Linked DNA regions of Homo sapiens: region 2 is linked to region 1. Evidence: promoter capture Hi-C in 16 types of primary human blood cells and fetal thymus (Javierre and others, 2016). All regions are on one chromosome and are shown on one strand. Each heading gives the region's core, a stretch centred on a gene start or on the middle of the fragment in contact. The rest is flanking DNA. Distances are from core to core; before and after follow the strand shown. Region 1 holds the start of SFT2D3 (SFT2 domain containing 3). Region 2 overlaps MYO7B (myosin VIIB).

Region 1 (3,108 bases), core at 446-2,945:
GTCCTCAAGGTTCATCCATGTCGTAGCATGTGTCAGAATCTCCTTCCTTTTTAAGGCTGCGTAACAGTCCGTTGTATGCATATATCACATTTTATTGATCTGCTGGTGGACACTTGGGTTGCTTCCATCTCTTGACTGACATGAATAGTTCTGCTGTGAAGAGTTATACAAATCTCTGAGACCCTGCTTTCAATTCTTTGGGGTATATATCCAGAGTGGAACTGCTGGATTGGATTGTAATTATATACACACATACACACATAACTGTATACAAATATGTGTGTATATACGTTTATATGTGTCTGTGTGTGTGTGTGTGTATATATATATATATATATTTTTTTTTTATAGTAACTTCCATACTGTTTTCCACAGCGGATATAGCATTTTACATTCCCACCAACGGTGCACAAGGCTTCTAGTTTCTCCACATCCTTGACAGCACTTGTAACTTTCTGGTGTGTTTTTGTTTTTTTGTTTTGATTGTAGCCATCCTAATGGTTTAGCCCATGCTAAGTGATCAGGCTGGTCACTATTATTATCAAGTGAGATAACAAATCAGAATATATTTTGAAAAAGAATTGCATCTGCCAGGATCCAACCAAGAAAACAGAAAGCATTAAAAGGAACTTAATGGGGGAGATTAGTTACACACAGGGGATGGAAAGGCTGAGAAGCCAAACAGCAGGAAGCCGTTAACCTTACATCCACCTAGGGCAGAGGACAAAGGACACAGGGCCACCCAGGGGAAGCCAAGGTGGTGAGGGGAGCTGTGGAGGCAGCTGGAAGAATCTGGAGGAATCTGACCTGTGAGAGGAACCACAAGCAAACACCCTCTAGGAGGCTCTGAGAAACAGCAGGGCACGTGGGTGCGGCCTGGGAACAGATCAGGATTGACCTGCGTGCGAGCCAGCTTGTCACAGTGATGTGACGATGAGTCAGGACACCTGGGCGTGGCGCTGTCCAGAGCACGAGAGTGACACCAAACACATGGGACAGCAGCACCGAGTCTTGGACAAGGGGCGCGAAGGAGTCAAGGATGTTGCCAGGCCTGTGGCCGAAACTGAGAACAGAATAGAGAAGCAGGTTGAGGGTGCTGGGTGTCAACCCTTCCTTTATCAACCCCATGGTAAATGATCAGGATGGTCACTATTACTACAAGTGAGGTAACTAATCAGAACGCAACTTTCCCCAAAAAACCCACCTGAGTTACACAGGTCTGAACTTTTTTAAAAATTAAATTTTTATTTTGAGATCACTGTTTGTGTTCAGTTGTAAGAAACAAGAGAGATTCTGTGTACCCTTTACCCATTCCTCCATGTTGCAAAACTAGCACAATATCACCGCCACGGTAGACGCAGTGAGGCCATAAGACATTTCCGTCAGCAAAAGGGTCACTTCTTGTGCCCCTTTAGAACCACACCCACCCCTGCCTTCCAACTATTAATGCTGGCAGGACTTAGCCAGACCGCAAGGGCGCCTACTCCGAACAAGGAAGAGGGTCAGGCGCTGGGAGGGCGACTGCAAGCGGACAGGCAGCACCTGCGACCACGGTACTTGGGGACACCACAAAAGTCCGCAGAGCAGGCACCGCGGCACTTCCGCGAGCGCCGCAGGCCCTGCCCCTTTCGCCGTCGCCGACCAATTGCCGCCCGAAGACCGAACCGCTTCAGCGGAGGGCCGGAAGTGAGCCGCAGCTTTTCCTTTCTGCCACCGCCTTGTCCAAGATGGCGGACCTCCACCGCCAGCTGCAGGAGTACCTGGCGCAGGGGAAAGCTGGCGGCCCGGCGGCCGCGGAGCCGCTGCTCGCCGCGGAGAAGGCGGAGGAGCCCGGGGACCGGCCGGCGGAGGAGTGGCTGGGCCGCGCGGGCTTGCGCTGGACGTGGGCGCGGAGCCCTGCGGAGTCGGCAGCGGCCGGCCTGACGTGCCTCCCGAGCGTGACGCGCGGGCAGCGGCTGGCGGCGGGCGGCGGGTGCCTGCTGCTGGCTGCACTGTGTTTCGGCCTAGCCGCGCTCTACGCACCGGTGTTGCTGCTGCGCGCGCGCAAGTTCGCGCTGCTCTGGTCACTGGGCTCGGCGCTGGCGTTGGCGGGAAGCGCGCTGCTGCGGGGCGGCGCGGCGTGCGGACGCCTGCTGCGCTGCGAAGAAGCGCCGTCCCGGCCCGCGCTGCTCTACATGGCAGCGCTGGGCGCCACGCTGTTCGCCGCGCTGGGCCTTCGCAGCACGCTGCTCACGGTGCTGGGCGCGGGCGCGCAGGTGGCCGCGCTGCTGGCCGCGCTGGTTGGGCTGCTGCCCTGGGGCGGCGGCACCGCGCTGCGCCTCGCACTGGGTCGCCTGGGCCGCGGCGCCGGCCTCGCCAAGGTGCTGCCCGTGTGAGGACCTCGCGCCCTCGCCGCTGGGGAAGTACGCGGAGCCAGCGCCGTCGGAGACCGCGCCGGCCGAGCTGAGGACTGCACGCCGCTGTGCGGAAGCCCGTGGCGAAGGCCCTGCCCTAACAGCCTGCGAGTCTAATCCGGGAGCGGCTGCTGCCAGCGGAGGCGACAGCAGCGTTGGGAGCTCCTCGATGTCAGCTTTTTGTGCTGGACTTGGCACACGCTCTGAAAACTGAGATTTTGTCATTGAACTGGTGACAGGATGTGAGACGGTTATTAGAAGTTGCTTTCGAAGTAACTGTGGTCTTAGGTTCGGCTGAGTAAAGAAAAAGGATTTTTCTTCGAGTTAGCTGCTCTTGTGATTTTTCTCAGGCTGTTTTGTCATTTTAAAATCCAGTGGTAGATGTAGCTTAGCGACGGTAGTTTTTTGTTTTGGCTATACTAAGACTTGGAAATTATTCTCTCCAGTGTCAGCGAATCCAGAAGGGTATCAGATTAAACACCGAATTCAGCCACTGGACTTTTAAAAGTACTTAAGATGGTTTATCTCGGGTTTTTTCTTCAGTTAACAAAATCATAAATATGGTGCCTTATAACATGAAAGGAAAATTAGTTGTGTATTTCACGACGAAAGCGACGGACCAAAAGAAATTTCCTGCCCCAAGAAGCATGGGATCCAGGAAGGGGCGCGTAGATGCTTAACGGTCTCTTCGGAAATCCTGCAAATAGAAAGATAA
Region 2 (3,108 bases), core at 203-2,702, 110 kb before region 1:
TCCTGCAATGGATGGATGGATGGGTGAATGGATGGGTGGGTGGATAGATGGGTGAGTGGGTGGATGGGTAGTGGGTGGGTGGATGGGTGAGTGGATGGATGGGTGGTGGGTGGGTGGATGGATGGGTGGGTGGATGGATGGGTGGGTGAGTGGATGGGTGGATGGGTGTGTGAGGGTGGATGGGTAAATGGATGTGTGGTTGGTTGGTTGGATGGATGGATGGATGAGTGGATGGATGGGTGAGTGGATGGACGGGTGAATGGGTGGTTGGGTGGATAGATGGGTGAGTGGGTGGATGGGTAGTGGATGGGTGGATGGATGGGTGAGTGAGTGGATGGGTGGTGGGTGGGTGGATGGATGGGTGGGTGAGTGGATGGGTGGATGGGTATGTAAGTGGATGGGTGAATGGGTGTGTCGATGGTTGGGTGGATGGGTGAGTGGGTGAATGGATAGATGGATGGGTGGGTGGCTGTGTGGATGGGTGAGTGGATGGACGGGTGGGTGGGTGGATGGGTGAATGGATGGGTGGATGGGTGAGTGGGTGGATGGATAGATGGACGGGCAGGTGGCTGTGTGGGTGGGTGAGTGGATGGATGGGTGGGTGGATGGGTGGGTGGGTGGATGGATAGATGGATGGGTGGGTGGCTGTGTGGATGGGTGAGTGGATGGATGGATGGGTGGGTGGAATGGTGAATGAATGGGTGCATGGGTGGGTGCATGTGGCAGCTTATATAAGGGGGTTTGGAGTGGGAATGGGAATCTGGGGGGTCCAGAGTTTAGATAGGAGAAGTGACTTTGTGCTGGGTAGATGGTGGGGGCCACGCCTGGGTAGAGGGGTGGAGAGCATGGCCTTAGTGGGGCCATGGGTGGATGGGTGAGTGGGTGGATGGGTGGTGAGTAGGTGGATGGATGGGTGAGTGGGTGGATGGGTGGTGCGTGGGTGGATGGATGAGTGGGTGCATGGGTGAATGGATGGGTGAATGGGTGGGTGGATGGGTGGGTGGGTGGATGGGTGAGAGGGTGGATGGATAGATGGATGGGCGGGTGGCTATGTGGGTTGGTGAGTGGATGGAAGGATGGATGGGTGGGTGGGTGGGTGAATGGATGGACGCATGGGTGGGTGGGTGGATGGGTGCTGGGTAGGTGGAAGGATGGGTGAGTGGGTGGATGGGTGGTGGGCGGGTGGATGGGTGGGTGGGTGGATGGATAGGTGTGTGAGTGGATGGGTGAAGGGGTGGGTGGATGGGTGAGTGGGTGGATGGATACATGGATGGGTGGGTGGGTGGATTCTTGAATAGGTAGATGCACCACCCCACCTGTGGGGCCTTGGCCGCAACCCTTGCTGGCCTACAGGGTCAGCTGTCCCAGGACATGGCTCCTGAGACCCACTTGTGCTCTGTGCTTCCATTCACAGTCTGCAGACTCAAATAAACGGCCCTCCACCTTAGGAAGCCAGTTCAAACAGTCTCTGGACCAGCTGATGAAAATCCTGACCAACTGCCAGCCTTACTTCATCCGCTGCATCAAACCTAATGAGTACAAGAAGCCGCTGGTAATGACAGGAGGCTGGGGCACAGCAAAGGAGGGAGGAGGAGGAGGCTGATGGCCTCTAGGGTTGTGGTCACTCCCTCTGCCAGGGCCTGGCTAGCGTTAGAGCTGTTACTGCCCCTACCTTACAGATAAGTACACTGGGGTAAGGTGACCAGACTAGGTCATGTGAAGGTCAGTGACCTGCAGAGCTTTGGGTTGCTGAGACCTCAGTTCCCTTAGCTCCGCCATGCATCTTCTGTGCGTTCTTGGCCTGGCTCTTTGCTGCTGTGAGCCTCAGTTTTCCCTTCTGTTAAGTCAGACTTGCTCCTGCCTGCAGGAATGCACTGAGGGTTGGACATGAGGTTTGCAGTACATGTCCCATATGTAAACCACACTCAACAAAGGCAGAAATCAGTAATAGGACTTTAGAGGCTGACACCACTCCTTTCACCAGCCCTGCAGACAGTCAGCTTTACCTGCTGTGAGACGGTGAGGGGGTGAGAGCCCACACTCCCTGCCCACAACGGAGTCCCTGCTCCATTGGGTGGGGAGTCCCACCCAGAGGCCGCATATGCAGGGATTCCCCAAACTAGGAGACATCAGCTGAAACAATATAAAATGGTTTTATCCCCATAAGGGAATAAAAATATTACATGAAATTAAATGCTTTTTGGAAAGAATAAAACTATGTGAAATCGAGTTTGATCTGGGTGCAGTAGCTCACGCTTGTAATCCCAGCACTTTGGGAGGCTGAGGCGGGAGGATTGCTTGAGGCAAGCCTGGGCAACATAGTAAGACCTTATCTCTGCAAAAAAATTTAAAAGTATAAAAATTAGCTAGGTATGGTGGTATGTGCCTGTAGTCTCAGCTACTCAGGAGGCTGAGGGAGGAGGATCACTTGAGCCCAGGAGGTCAAGGCTGCAGTGAACTATGATCACACCACTGCACTTCAGCCTGGGTGACAGAGCAAGACCTGTCTCTAAAAAAATAAAATGAGGCTTGCCTTATGAAATCTAGGTTGCATCTTCCTTGAAGGCAAAATAGGCAGATGTGAGATAACCTATCTTGTTCCTTAACTGCTGGGAGAAGTAGCTGGGCTCCCAGAGACCCTTGGCTCGTTCAGACCCTGCCTACCTTGGGAGCTGGGAGTTGCAGGACAGGCAGGCAGGCCTGAGGCTGAAGCTCGGGGGTTAAGAGTGCCTCTGGCTGGGATATCTCTCATTGGTGGCTGCTCAGGGTTCAAACCCAGGCTCAGCCCCTTAGAAGCAAAACCCTATGCCTCAGCACCTCATCTTTAAGTTGGAGCCAATCACCCCCACCAGGTAGGAATGTTGTAAAGATTCAGTGAGAAACACCAGGCCCATAGGAAATCGTCAGTGAAGCGCAGCTAAACACTTACCCGAGGCTAAGCTCAGTGTGGCCTGGACCCCACCAGCAGTTGGCGCTGTGACCCTGCAGGTGGGGTAACAGTGCCTGCTGGTGGGTTTGCCACATCAGAGGGCGTTCCCCAGGGTCCCTCAGAGACTCCTGGCTTGTAGGTGGAGAGGGGCTCTCTAGAATCCAAGCCATGGCAGAGTC

The links. Contacts are between HindIII fragments. The CHiCAGO score rates a contact against its expected background, and 5 or more counts as called.
Region 2: a fragment that was not itself captured here is called in contact with the fragment with the promoter of SFT2D3 in region 1 in 1 of 17 cell types (total B cells); the score reaches 5.2 in total B cells.

What each region holds. Positions count from the first base shown.
Region 1 is chr2:127,699,802-127,702,909 of GRCh38, forward strand. SFT2D3 (SFT2 domain containing 3) reads left to right here and starts at 1,696. Exons shown (of 1, transcript NM_032740.4): 1 at 1,696-3,108. The coding sequence starts at 1,728. The coding sequence ends at 2,375. WDR33 (WD repeat domain 33) reads right to left here. Exons shown (of 22, transcript NM_018383.5): 22 at 1,226-3,108. RefSeq lists enhancers at 218-1,417, 412-933, 645-1,014, 934-1,455 and a silencer at 1,775-2,454. The HindIII fragment of the contact is 7,289 bases long and covers 1-3,108 here.
Region 2 is chr2:127,588,678-127,591,785 of GRCh38, forward strand. MYO7B (myosin VIIB) reads left to right here. Exons shown (of 48, transcript NM_001393586.1): 16 at 1,415-1,552. Among named protein-coding and RNA genes, the nearest start is that of MYO7B-AS1, 41 kb to the right of the region's middle. The HindIII fragment of the contact is 8,153 bases long and covers 1-3,108 here.